Regions from separate parts of the Homo sapiens genome. Here all the other regions are linked to region 2. The links are contacts of gene promoters, found by promoter capture Hi-C in human tissues and cell types (Jung and others, 2019). All regions are on one chromosome and are shown on one strand. The core of a region is centred on a gene start or on the middle of the fragment in contact, and the rest is flanking DNA. Distances in the headings are between cores, read along the strand shown.

What was found. Contacts are between HindIII fragments. The study calls those that stand out against the background at their distance.
Region 1: a contact is called between a fragment that was not itself captured here and the fragment with the promoter of DNAJC1 in region 2, in 1 of the 25 tissues and cell types used here (aorta).
Region 3: a fragment that was not itself captured here is called in contact with the fragment with the promoter of DNAJC1 in region 2 in 1 of the 25 tissues and cell types used here (dorsolateral prefrontal cortex).

The regions. Positions count from the first base shown.
Region 1 is chr10:23,120,902-23,125,461 of GRCh38, reverse strand. It overlaps MSRB2 (methionine sulfoxide reductase B2), which reads right to left. Exons shown (of 5, transcript NM_012228.4): 5 at 3,449-4,560. Among named protein-coding and RNA genes, the nearest start is that of MSRB2, 28 kb to the right of the region's middle. The HindIII fragment of the contact is 3,578 bases long and covers 1-3,407 here.
Region 2 is chr10:22,001,562-22,005,590 of GRCh38, reverse strand. DNAJC1 (DnaJ heat shock protein family (Hsp40) member C1) reads left to right here and starts at 1,861. Exons shown (of 12, transcript NM_022365.4): 1 at 1,861-2,378. The coding sequence starts at 2,157. RefSeq lists enhancers at 1,608-1,737, 1,768-1,817, 1,697-2,197 and a silencer at 1,858-2,227. The HindIII fragment of the contact is 11,297 bases long and covers 1-4,029 here.
Region 3 is chr10:23,024,026-23,028,053 of GRCh38, reverse strand. The region is part of intron 16 of ARMC3 (armadillo repeat containing 3); the gene reads right to left. The region is part of intron 2 of LOC107984215 (a long non-coding RNA gene); the gene reads left to right. Among named protein-coding and RNA genes, the nearest start is that of MSRB2, 70 kb to the left of the region's middle. The HindIII fragment of the contact is 9,456 bases long and covers 1-4,028 here.

The DNA of each region.
Region 1 (4,560 bases), core at 369-2,868, 1.1 Mb before region 2:
AGGGCATACTGTGAACAATTCCATGCTGATAAGCTTGACGATCTAGATAAAATACTACTTAAAAAGCAAATTTTTTTTTTTTTTTTTTTTTTTTTGAGACGGAGTCTTGCTCTTGTCGCTCAGGCTGGAGTGTAGTGGTGCGATCTCGGCTCACCACAAGCTCCGCCACCCGGGTTCATGCCATTCTCCTGCCTCAGCCTCCCGAGTAGCTAGGATTACAGGCACCCGCCACCACGCCCGGCTAATTTTTTTGTATTTTTAGTAGAGACGGGTTTTCACTGTGTTAGCCAGGATGGTCTCGATCTCCTGACCTCGTGATCCGCCTGCCTCGGCCTCCCAAAGTGATGGGATTACAGGCGTGAGCCACCTTGCCCGGCTTAAAAAGCAAATTTACCAAAACTGCCTCAAGAAAATTTGGCAGCCCTATTTAAATTAATAATAAAAACTTTCCCACATAGAAAACTCCAGATCTAGATCACTTCACTGGGGAATTCCACCAGTTATTTAAGGAAGAAATGACGCCAATCTTACACCAACGTTTTCAAAATATAAAAGAGGAGGGAGCATTTCCCAGATCGTTTTATGGGGCTAACATTACCTTTATTAGAAAATCAAATACATCACAAGATAATAGAACTGCAGAGCAATATTACTCATGAGCATAGAAACAAAAAGTTCCTAACAAAATATAGCAAATAAGAACCAATAACATGTAAAAAGAATACTATCTATCATATCCAAGTGGGGTTTATCTCAGAATGCAAGGTTGGCTTAACATCAGAAAATCAATCAATATAATCTACTCTATGAATAGAAAACAGAAAAAGAACCATATAATTATTTAAATGGATGCAGAAAAAACATTTGATAAAAATCAACACTCTTTCATCACTAAATCTCTCAACAACTAGGAATAGAAGTCTTCCTCATCCAATTAAGGTTATAAAAAAAATCTACAGCTAACATCAAACTCAATGGTGAAGATTTAATGTTTTCTACCTAAAATCACAAACAAAGCAAAGCAGGCATATCCACTCTCACTATTTGCATTTAAATTTGTATTGTAAGACCCAGATAGTGAATAAGGCAAGAAAAAGAAAAAGGCAAATTGGAAAGAAGAAGTAAAACTGTCCTATTTGCAGACATGATTTTGTATGTACAAAGCTCTAAGAAATCCAGAAAAAAGTTACAAGGATTAATATAAGTCAATTTAGTAAAGTTGCAGGATACATGTTCAAAACACAAAAATTAATTGTATTTCTATATATAGTGAAAGAATAGAAAATAAAAATGTAAATAACAATTCAATTTATGACAGTATTAAGAAAATTAAAATATTTTGGCATTAATTTAACAAAATATGTGCAAGACCCACATAGTAAAAACAACAAAATATTTAAAGAAAAACTAAAGCATACTTAAATAAACAGAGAAACATACCAGGCTGGTGGACTGGGACACTCAATATTTTTAAGATGCCAGTTCTCCCCAGATTGATATATCAATGCAATACCAATCAAAATTCCAGCAAGACTTTTTGTAGAAATTTCCAAGCAAATTCTAAAATTTATATGGAAATGCACATGTTTTGGTTATGTTTTTCCAATTGTGTTCTTTTTTCAAAATTGTTTTAGCATAAAACAACTAGCCAAGACTTGCTATAAACCTATAATTTCAATACAGTGTGGTATAAATGCCATAAGATTTTCAAGACTTGCTATAAACCTATAATAATGTCAAGACTTGCTATAAACCTATAATAATCAATACAGTGTGGTATAAATGCCATAGGAATAGATATATCAATGGAACAGAATAGAGAGTCCAGAAATAGACCCATGCTAATATGGAAATTAATTTTTTTGAAAAATGTCAAGGAAATTCAAGGAAGTCTTCAGTAAACAGTGCTGGGATAATTGGCTATCTGTAGAGGAAAAAATTCTAATTCCCCAAATTAGAACTCTATACTCAGGGAAAATATTCCTCAGAATGAAAGGAGAATAAATACGTTTCCTCACCAACAAAAACTGAAAAAAAATCATCACTAGGAAATATGAACTAATGGGAAAAATAAAAGAAGTTCGGCCAGGCACGGTGACTCACGCCTGTAATCCCAGCACTTTGGGAGTTCAAGGCGGGTGGATCACAGGCTCAGGAGTTCAAGACCAGCCTGGCCAAGATGGTGAAACCCCGTCTCTACTAAAAATACAAAAATTAGCCGAATGCGGTGGCAGGCGCCTGTAATCCCAGCTTCTCAGGAGGCTGAGGCAGGAGAATCTTTTGAACTCGGGGGTGGCAGAAGTTGCAGTGAGCCGAGATCGCACCACTGCACTCCAGCCTGGACGACAGAGTGAGACTCCATCTCACAAAAAAAAACAAAAAAAGAAAAACAAAAAGAAGTTCTTCAGGCAGAAGAAAAATAATCACACAGGGAAACACAGAATTGCAGGAAGAAATAAAAGAGCAACAAAAGAGGCAAATATGTAGGTAAATATAAATGAGTATCAACCACATATACTAAAAACATATATTATTATATATTAGTATGTTATATATTAGTGTATATTTATTAGTATACATATTAGTGTATATTATATATTTTATACTGATTCATTATATACTAATTATTAGTATATATTCGTACATATTTTAGTATATTATTATAATGGTTTGGGGGCTTTAAAGTGTGTGTGAAATGAAATACATGAGAATAGTAAAACAAAATGTGAGAGGATGTTAATAAAGTGTTCTAAGGCTAACATTCCTGGAGAACTCAAAATAAGTAATAATTTACATATGATGGTAACAAGTAAGGAAGCATGTTGTAATTTCCATGGTTGCTACTAAAAGAAATGTAAAATAATATATAACAAGTTCATAAAGAGAAAAAAAGTATAAACAAGTTTCCTTTTTGCCCATAAAGTCACAAAGAGAATGATTTATATACTTTCAGTAACAAATTATTCAAGACTCTTGATTTGTGAAATACTTGAGTTGCTATTAGTCTTGGTATAACCAAATGCCTGCTACCATGTGAGCCAATTCTTATTTGTCATTTTTAATTTAGAGGTTTTTTGTTTTTTGGTTTTTGTTTTTGTTTTTTTTTTTTTTTTTGAGATGGAGTTTTGCTCTTGTTGCCCAGGCTGGAGTGCAATGGTGTGATCTTGGCTCACTGCAACCTCCACCTCCTGGGTTCAAGCAATTCTCCTGCCTCAGCCTCCCAAGTAGCTGGGATTACAGGCATGTGCCACCATGCCCGGCTAACTTGGTATTTTTAGTAGAGATGGAGTTTCTCCATGTTTGTCAGGCTGGTCTCAAACTCCTGACCTCAGGTGATCCGCCTGCCTTGGCCTCCCAAAGTGCTGGGATTGCAGGTGTGAGCCACCACGCCTGGCTAGAGTTTTTTTTATAAAAGAGCATGTTCATTGACTTAGCCAAAAAGCAAACATAAATTTTAGTGAATATTTTATTTGGACATTTTAAAGTTTAGCTTTGTAACCAGAAGGTATGAAGGTGAACATTTATTCATAATCATTGAAATCTAACCAAGTCCTATTGCAGTTTATTTGTGGGTAGAATGGTTGGAAGTAGCATGCTCAAGACATTTAAAATTTTGAAAAAAAAGTCATGCATCTGATTGATCACCATATATGCTCCCAGAGCACAGCTCCTCCGTAATCCTGCTCTTCAGTGCTAGCATTGTTGATTCCTTGGATCCTGTATTTTCCTTCCTCTTCTCACTTGATCCCTTACTTATGTCTGTCAAGGACTGAAACGCAGTGGAAGGTGCAGGGAATTTTTGTAGGAATTGTTTGGCTTAATAGTCCATCAGCCTCCTGATGTTCCCAGAGTCATGCCCTCGTCTCAGGTGAAGCTGTGGAAGTGTTTGATGGAAACAGCTGTCCCTCTGTCGTTTTGTGAAGTTCTACTCCAAGTGGGAGTTGGGTGATATGGTTTGGATGTTTTCCCTCTCCAAATCTTATGTTGAAGTATAATTCCTAGTGCCGGAGGTGGGCCCTGCCGGGAGGTAACTGGGTCATGAGGGTGGATCCCTCATGGCTTGGTGCTGTCCTGGTGACAGTGAGTGAGTTCTTGAGAGATCTGGCTGTTTAAAAGTATGTGGCACCTCCCTACCACTCTCTCTTGCTCCTGCTTTGCCATGTGAGACGCCGGCTCCCCCTTCACCTTCTGCCATGAGTAAAAGCTCCCTCAGGTCTCCCCAGAATCCGAGCAAATGCTGGCACCATGCTTTCTGTACACCCTGCAGAACTGTGAGTCAATTAAACCTCTTTTCTTTATAAGTTACTCAGTCTCAGGTATTTTTTTTTCTTTTTAATTTTGTTTATTTTTCTAGTTTTTCTTTTTTTTTCAAATTCTCCCAGATCCTGATCAGGTACTTCTTTATAGCAACACAAGAACAGCCTAACACACAGGATTAAGTTGATTCCAGGTAAATAAATTAAGAGAAGCAATGACTCGCTGGAGACAGCAGCAAATTCAGCCCAGTTTTATTGCAAATAAAACAAGTCATTCAAGTGAATTGTGGAAATTGAGGGTGCA
Region 2 (4,029 bases), core at 612-3,111:
TGTGTAAACTCCCTCTGCCCAGGCCAAGCTGGATGAGTCTATGCCCAGAATTAGTACATGTCACCAGGGAAGAAAACAGTGGATACTGTCACTCCCTTAGTTCAGACCTCAGCAAAAGATTTATTCAATTGCACTGTAATTTTTGGGACAATGACTGAATAGGTAAAGAGGCCAAGCTAGAAGTCTAAATATGAATATCACTGTGGTCTTTGCAGGAACCTGGACAAGCAAGAAGATCATCTCAGGGTGGACAAGTGTCATTGGAGCTGGGCAGCATGAATTTTTGAGTAATACCTTATGTCCATGAGAAGTATTATTAATAGAATCCAATTCTGTTTCAGCATGGCCTTAGAAAGAGGATGGGCTATCTTTAGATGGAGTAAGTCCCCGAGGTTCTCAGACAACATAAAGGTAAAACTCAAAAGGGAAATACTAGGCTGTCTGCTACAAGATCGGGGTAAGAATCCCAGATTTGTGGCAATATGGCACCAGTTTCAAAGGTTTTATTGCACTTAATCTAATGATCAAATTAGGAGAAAAGATGAATGTTACTATAATATGTAAAAGTAGTGCTTAAGATCATTAATTTCATCTTATTTCGATGTTTTGTTCATTGAATAAACAGTAACCTAATTTAGGGACTTGGTAAAGATGACGTTCACTTTAAGAAAACTGATATAACCAAAAATAAACTAGGCTGGGGGTGGTGGCTCATGCCTGTAATCCCAGCAGTTTGGGAGGCTGAGGTGGGTAGATCACATCATGTGAGGTCAGGAGTTTGAGACCAATCTGGCCTACACGGTGAAACCCCGTCTCTACTAAAAATACAAAAAATTAGCCAGGCATGGTGGCAGGAGTCTGTAATCCTAGCTACTCGGGAGGCTGAGCCAGGAGAATTGCTTGAACGTGGGAGGCAGAGGTTGCAGTGAGCCGAGATGGTGTCATTGCACTCCAGCCTGTGCAACAAGAGCAAAACTCCGTCTCTAAATAAATAAATAAATAAACTAAAAATCTGTGGTAGGGGGAATGGTGGTAGGGAGGTAGTCACAGGATTCAGTTCAACTAATTGAGTGCTCTCATGTGCTATGCATTGTGCTAAGCACACAATAATAAAGTCCACACAAGAGAATTGTGGTGGAGAAAATAACTTGAAAAGAGCTTGAACAGAAGCAATGCAAGACTAGAAGGTGAGACATTGTTATGGGAGAGGAGGTTTTTAGCCTGTCTTTTAAAACAGAAACATCTCAATTGAGGTCTGTTTTCAAAGGAACCCCAACTGGAGGTGGGCTAAGGTGGATAAACTACATTTCTCCTCCAACTATGATTGAGTCACCATTATTAACTGTTAATTCTACCAGGTCATTTTATGGTATTATGCCTGTAAATCTTAATTCATAATTAGAAGTATACTTTTTGTTTTGGTTTCAATTCCTTTTCTGCTCTACCTCTCTCTACTTACTAGATTTGCCCCTTTTAGAACCTGGTTCAACTTGTCCTGTCTTCTTTGCTGATGGACTAATTAAATGCATGGAAGCCATAATCAATTAATCAGGCTTCAAATATGCTTTTAGTGTTCGATAGCTAGGGGAGAGGAAGACAGTAGCTATTTCAGGGGAAGTCCACGTGGGGCGTTCCAGATGGACGCGAGATGGCTATAACCGTCCCTGTCTCTCAGCCCATGTGGGCGCAGGTACAGCTGCTCCGTGCGCGCCAGTGATTGAGAGGCATTTCACCCAGGCCCAGATCTGGGGCGCCAGGCGTCCAGGCTTCCGGCCACGCCCCCTTCCCGCGGTTGCTAGGAGACATGATGTCACCGGAAGCGAGGCCTGGGATAGGCTGAGGCGAAGGGAAGCCTCACCCACTGTGCAGCCCAGGCGCCGGGCGCTGCCTCTACAGCTGTGTGTAGGCCTGGGGGCGAGGGTCTTCGGAACGTAGCGCTGGCTGCGGCCCCGCCCGCCTACCCACCCGCCCGTCCGGCAGCCGGCTCCCGCCGCCTCCGCGCTCTGTCTGGGGCCAGCCACCTGGCGGGCCGCTCCGGTGCGCCTGCCCGCGCTTTTCACTGACAGGCGCTGTTCCCCACAGCCAGCGCCGCCCGCCACGTCCCAGCTCTCGGCCAACGGAGCTGCGCGGCGGGTGACCTTTCCGAGCCCAGCGCGATGACGGCTCCTTGCTCCCAGCCGGCGCAGCTTCCTGGACGCCGCCAGCTCGGGCTGGTGCCGTTCCCGCCGCCGCCGCCGCGGACGCCGCTGCTGTGGCTGCTGCTGCTGCTGCTGGCCGCCGTGGCGCCGGCGCGCGGCTGGGAGAGCGGAGACCTGGAGTTGTTTGACTTAGTGGAGGAGGTGCAGCTCAACTTCTACCAGTTCCTCGGGGTGCAGCAGGTAAGCAAGGAGGCGCGCGGGGCCGGGCGGAGAGGGGCCAGGGCAGGCGTCAGGCGACCCGGTTCCTCAGAGACAGCCGGACACGTAGGGCAGGGCTTGGTCACCCCGGGCTCTGGCTGCCCTCAGCTCGGGTCACCGGGGTCCTCAGCCTTGGAAGGACGTGTCCGTCTTCCCCAGATCTTTACTCCTGCTTCAACTTTTCTAGTCCCAGCCCCAGTGACAGGCTGGACGGCGCCACTAGCCTAGGGTGGCGATGCCTTCTCTCTGCTCCGGCGTTCTGGGGAAGAGCCTTCCCCCTCCAGCTGTGCTGGAGGAAGAACGAAGAGTGGTGTGGGTAGACTTTTTTTTTTTTTTAATTTAACACCTACCTTTTGCCTTCCTGTCCCCCTGAATGTGAGAAAGAGCAGCCGCTTCTCACCCTAAACTGTCATCTTCCACCGATACTTACCTCATCCTTATTCTTATTTCAGCTGCCTCCCCTCCTCTTCCCTTCTGGGAAAGTAGGAATGCACTGTGGCCAGTGTCTGTGTTGCAAAAGTTTTTCTTACTTTGTACTTCGTCATCTTTTTAGCCTGTTAGGTAGATGTTTGTTTCGCTTTCGCAGTTTAGAAATCTGGAGGAATTTGAAGCGTCTAACCAGGTTGGAGGTGTTAAGTTTTTTGAGCAGCAAAGGACTTGGGATGCGATTGGAAGAGAAGCCCCCGGTCAGTAATGTAGGAATGGGTTTTTTTTTCCCCTTTTCCTTTTGTTTCATTTCGTTTTCTTCTATAGCTTAAGACATTAACTTGTAAAATCCATTTGTTGCTTTTTAGTTCTACCATTGAGGGTGGTTGAGTGAGGGTAGATATCCAGTCTCTACCTGAAGCCTTGTGCGAAGGAGAAGATAACATTTCGCTGATTTCAGGCTTATGGGGTGAAAAATGTACACTTCACACGATCTGATTGAGCCCTTCGTACAATGCTTTGAATAGTTATGGGAGTAAAAAATTAATGTTTACGATAGTTGCCATTCAAGGCACACTTCACATGACTAGATATGAAATGCACATCCCCTTCCCCCATAGGTTATCATAAATGTGGGTGAACTATTGAACTTTTACTGAATTTTAATTTTCAGACATTGCATTTTCATTCCATCAGTGAATATAAAATTGCTGGGTTGCCAGGGTACCATGAGTGAAACAATTTTTTATTTTTGTAAGAGTTATAAAGTATAGGCATTTCACACTTCAGATTCATATGTGCAAGCAACTTTGTAATAACTATATTTATGATCTGTTGCCTGGTGCCCCTCCCTGCTTATAGATACACTATATATCTCATTTTCAAAGCAAATGATGGAGTATGTGTAAAAATAATTAGTGAAGCTCTGATGACTTTTAAGAACTACTTTAATACTGGGAATAATTAGAATTTATCATTGATTACATTCTGTACGTAAAGAGAGTCTTAAACATAATCTATCCAGAAATCTTGAAGATCCAGTTATTCATGAAAAATTAAGTGCCTTTAAGAGAACAGAAATTTAGTAGCAGTTTAAAATTTAGATCATGTAATCTAGCTTTGCATGTGAACACTCATAGAATTTTCATTTATAATTTCATGTAACTTGATTTGCATAGTTAATTAGGCAGTGTGAACAACCAGAGCA
Region 3 (4,028 bases), core at 407-2,906, 1.0 Mb before region 2:
CCTCCCACCTCAGCCTCCTGAGTAGCTGGGAGCACAGGTGTGTGCCACCATGCTTAGCTAATTTTTTTATTTTTTTGTAAAGACAAGGTCTCACTATGTTGCCAAAGCTTGTCTCCAACTCCTGAGCTCAAGCGAAACTCCTGCCTTGGCCTCCCAAAATGCTGCGATTACAGGTTTGAGCCACCGTGCCTGGATAGAAAACAAAAGATTGAAAAAAACAGTTGACAGACACTCAGGGACCTGTGGTACAATTAAAAAGGTCTAAGATTGATGTCATCAAAGTCCCAGACAGAGAAGAGAAAGGGTACAGTATAGAAAAAAACACATTGAATAAAGAAGGAAAGGCTGAGATGGCTCCCTCAATTTGGTTGAAAACATAAATCTACACAGTCAGGAATTTCAGTGAATGCCAATAAGGTAAACCCAAAGAAATCTACTCTCAGATACATCAAAATCAAACTCTTGAAAACTAAACACAAAGCAGATGACATGACTGTCTATGTAGAAACTCCCAAGGAATTCTCCAAAAAAACTACTATAAATGAGTTCATCGAAGGGTCAGGATATAAGATCAACACACAAAAACCAATTGTGTTTCATATAGTAAGTAACAAGGAACATGTGCAAATCAAAATTAAAACCAAAAAACTGTTTGAAGCATTTACAATTGCTCCAAATAAAATACTTACAGATAAACTTTGCAAAACATGTTGAATTCCTACATGATCTATGTGCTGAATATTAAAAATGCTAAGGAAAGCAATCAAAGAAGACTTAGATAAATGATGAGACGTATTGTGTTCATGGATTTGAAGATGTAACTATTAAAGATGTCAGTTCTCCCCCAAAATGATCTCTGGTTTTAATGCAATTCCTATCAATATCCCAGCGGTTTTTTCTAGACATATAATAGAAAATCTTATTCTAGAATTTATATGAAAAGGCACGGATTTTAGGATAGCTACATCAATCTTGACAAAGAAAAATAAAGTGGGAAGAATCACTGTATTTGATAGTAAGGCTTACTATATAGCTACAGTAATTCTGACAGAGTGATACTAGTAGAGGGATAGACATATGGATGGATGTAACAGAACTGAGGACCAAGAAATAGAAACCAAAAAAATATGCTCCACTGATTTTTGACAAAGGTGCAAAAGCAATTCAATGGAAGAAGGATGGTCTTTTTAACAAATGGTACTGGGGCAATTCGACTTGAGGGTCCACGTGGTGATGAAACTATTCATTATCTTAACTGTGCTAGTAGAGGCATAAACCTACACGTGATAAAATTGTATAAAACTAAATACACATGTAGAAGAAAAATAAACTTGAATAAAATGATTGGATTGTATCAATGTCAATATCCTAGTTATGATATTGTTTGCAGTCTTTTACCATTAAGTATGATGTGATCTGTAGATTATTTTGTAGATGGCTTTTATCAAGTTGAGGCAATTACCTTTTATGCCTTTTTTCAACAGTTTTATTTTTATTTTTATCCTATCAACATCATAAGTAGATGTTGAATTTTGCCAAATGCTTTTTCTGTGTCAGTTAATATAAGTTGGTTTTTCTTCTTTATACTGCTAATATGATGGATTACATTGATTGACAAGCATGACACAGGCTTGCATTCCTAGGATAAAGCCCTCAAGTTGCTCAGATAAATTATTCTTTGTATATACTGCTGAATTTGATTTGCTGGTATTTCATACAGGATTTAGGGATCTATGTTCATGAGGAATACTGATCTGTAATTTTCTTGTAATGTCCTTGTCTGGTATTGGCACTAGAGTAACCTAATGCAAATAGATTGGCATTAGATCATCGTGAGTTGAGAAGTATCCTCTATTTTCCTATTTTCTGAAAAAAATTGTGTACAATTGATGTTAATTCTTTAAGTGTTTGGTGAAATTTGCCAATGAAACTATCTGGATCAAGAGATTTCTTTTTGGAAAAAAATTTTAATGAATTAAATTTATTTAATAGTTACAGGGCTGTTGTCTATTTCATCTTTGGTGAGATCGGGTAGTTTGTAGTTTTTGATAAATAATTGGTCCATTCATTGCATCTAAGTTGCTGAACTAAGTTGCTTGTAGCATTTCTCTATTATCCTTTATTGTGTGTTGAGGGGTTATAGTAATAATTCCTTCTTTCATTCCTGGTCTTGGCAATTTGTGTCCTCTGTCTTTGATTAATTGTCATCTTTGCAGAGGTTTACCCAAGTTATTGAACTTTTTAAAGAAACAGATTTTTATTTCATTGATTTTCTCTATTGTTTCTGTTTTAAATTTCATTGATTTCTTACCTTTATTATTTCCTTCTTTCTGTTTGTGTTGGGAGTGTTTTGCTCTCCTTTTTCTAGTTTCTTGAGGTAGAAGCTCAGATTGTTGATTTGAGACCTCTTTTTGTTTCTAATGTAAGCATTTAGTACAATAGATTTTCCTCTCAACACTCCCTGAAGTGTGCCCCACAAATTTTGATATGCTTTATTTTAAATTTCTTTCAGTCCTACGTTCTTAATTTTTTTTGAGATGTCCTTTTATGTCCCATGGATTATTGAGAAGTGCATCATTCAATTTTCACTTGTTTAGAGATTTTCTTGTTGTATTTCTGTTATTAATTTATAATCTGATTTATCATGATTATTGTACATATTATGTATAATTTCAAGTATTTTAAATTTCCTGAGGTTTTTTTTATGGCTCAGGGTATTCGTGAATTTTCACATGCACTTTTAATGAAACGTGTATTCTGCTGTTATTGTTGGAGTGTTCTACATATGTCAATGAGATCTTGTTGGTTGCTGCTGTTGCTGAAATCTTCTGTATCCCTGCAAATTTTCCACCTAGAAGTTCTACCAGTTGCTGGGGGTTGGGGGCAGTGTTGAAGTCCCAATTATAATTGTGAAGTTGTCAAATTCTCCTTTCAGTGCTATCAGGTTTTTTTTGCTTCATTTATTTTGAGGCTTTGTTGTTTGGTTCACACACATTAGATCATTATGTCTTCCTCATAAGTTAATTCATTTGATCACTAATGTAATGTCCCTCTTTATTTCTAGTAATTTTCTTTGCTCTGTAGTCTAATTTATAAGATATTTTAAAACCCACTCCTGCTCCATAAAAAGTTAATGTTTACATGGTATTTTTGTCCATCCTTTTACTTTCAGCCTACCTATGTCAAATGAATTTGAAGTTAGTTTATTTAAACAGCATACAGTCGGATCATAACTTCTTATCCACTCTGCCAATCTGTCTTTCAATTGGTTTTTATTCCTCTGCTCTTCTTTTCTTGCCTTCTTGTGTGTTACTTGAACATTGTTTTTAGGATTCCATCTTGACTTATTTATGGCTTTTTGAGCATAGCTTTTTGTATAGGTTTTTTAGTGGTTACAGTAGATATTACAATGTACAAATATGGCTTATCACAGTGTACTGGTATCCACATTTTACTGCTTCAAGTAAAGTATGGAAGCCTCACCTCCTTTCAGGTGTCTTTACTTCCTTTACTTTAAAATATCATTGTCTTGAGTATAAGATGTTATACATTTTGTTTCAATCATCAAATGTGACTTAAAATACTCATGAGGAAATGGATAGTCTACTGCATGGAGGTATCTATCTATCTGTCTATCTATCTATCTATCTATCTATCTATGTGGCATTCCTCTTTCTTCCTAATCCTTCCAGATTCTTTCACCATTTTCTTTCTGTTTGAAGAACATTCTTTAGCCAATCTGTTAGGATAGGCCTGCTAACTGTAAGTTGTTTAGTTTTCCTTTACCTGAGAAGGGCTTTATTTGTCTTCTTCATTGCTGAAGAATGGTTTCACCAGATACTTGTGGTTGACAGTTCTTTTCTTTCAGCACTTGAAAAACATGCCACTTCCACCTGGCTTCTATAGTTTCAAATAAGAAAGACACTGTCACTTGAGTCGATGTTTTCCTACAAGAAATGCATAGTTTTTCTTTGGCTGCTCGATTTCAGAAGTTTAATTATAATTAACTTAGTGTTGTTTTCTTTGGG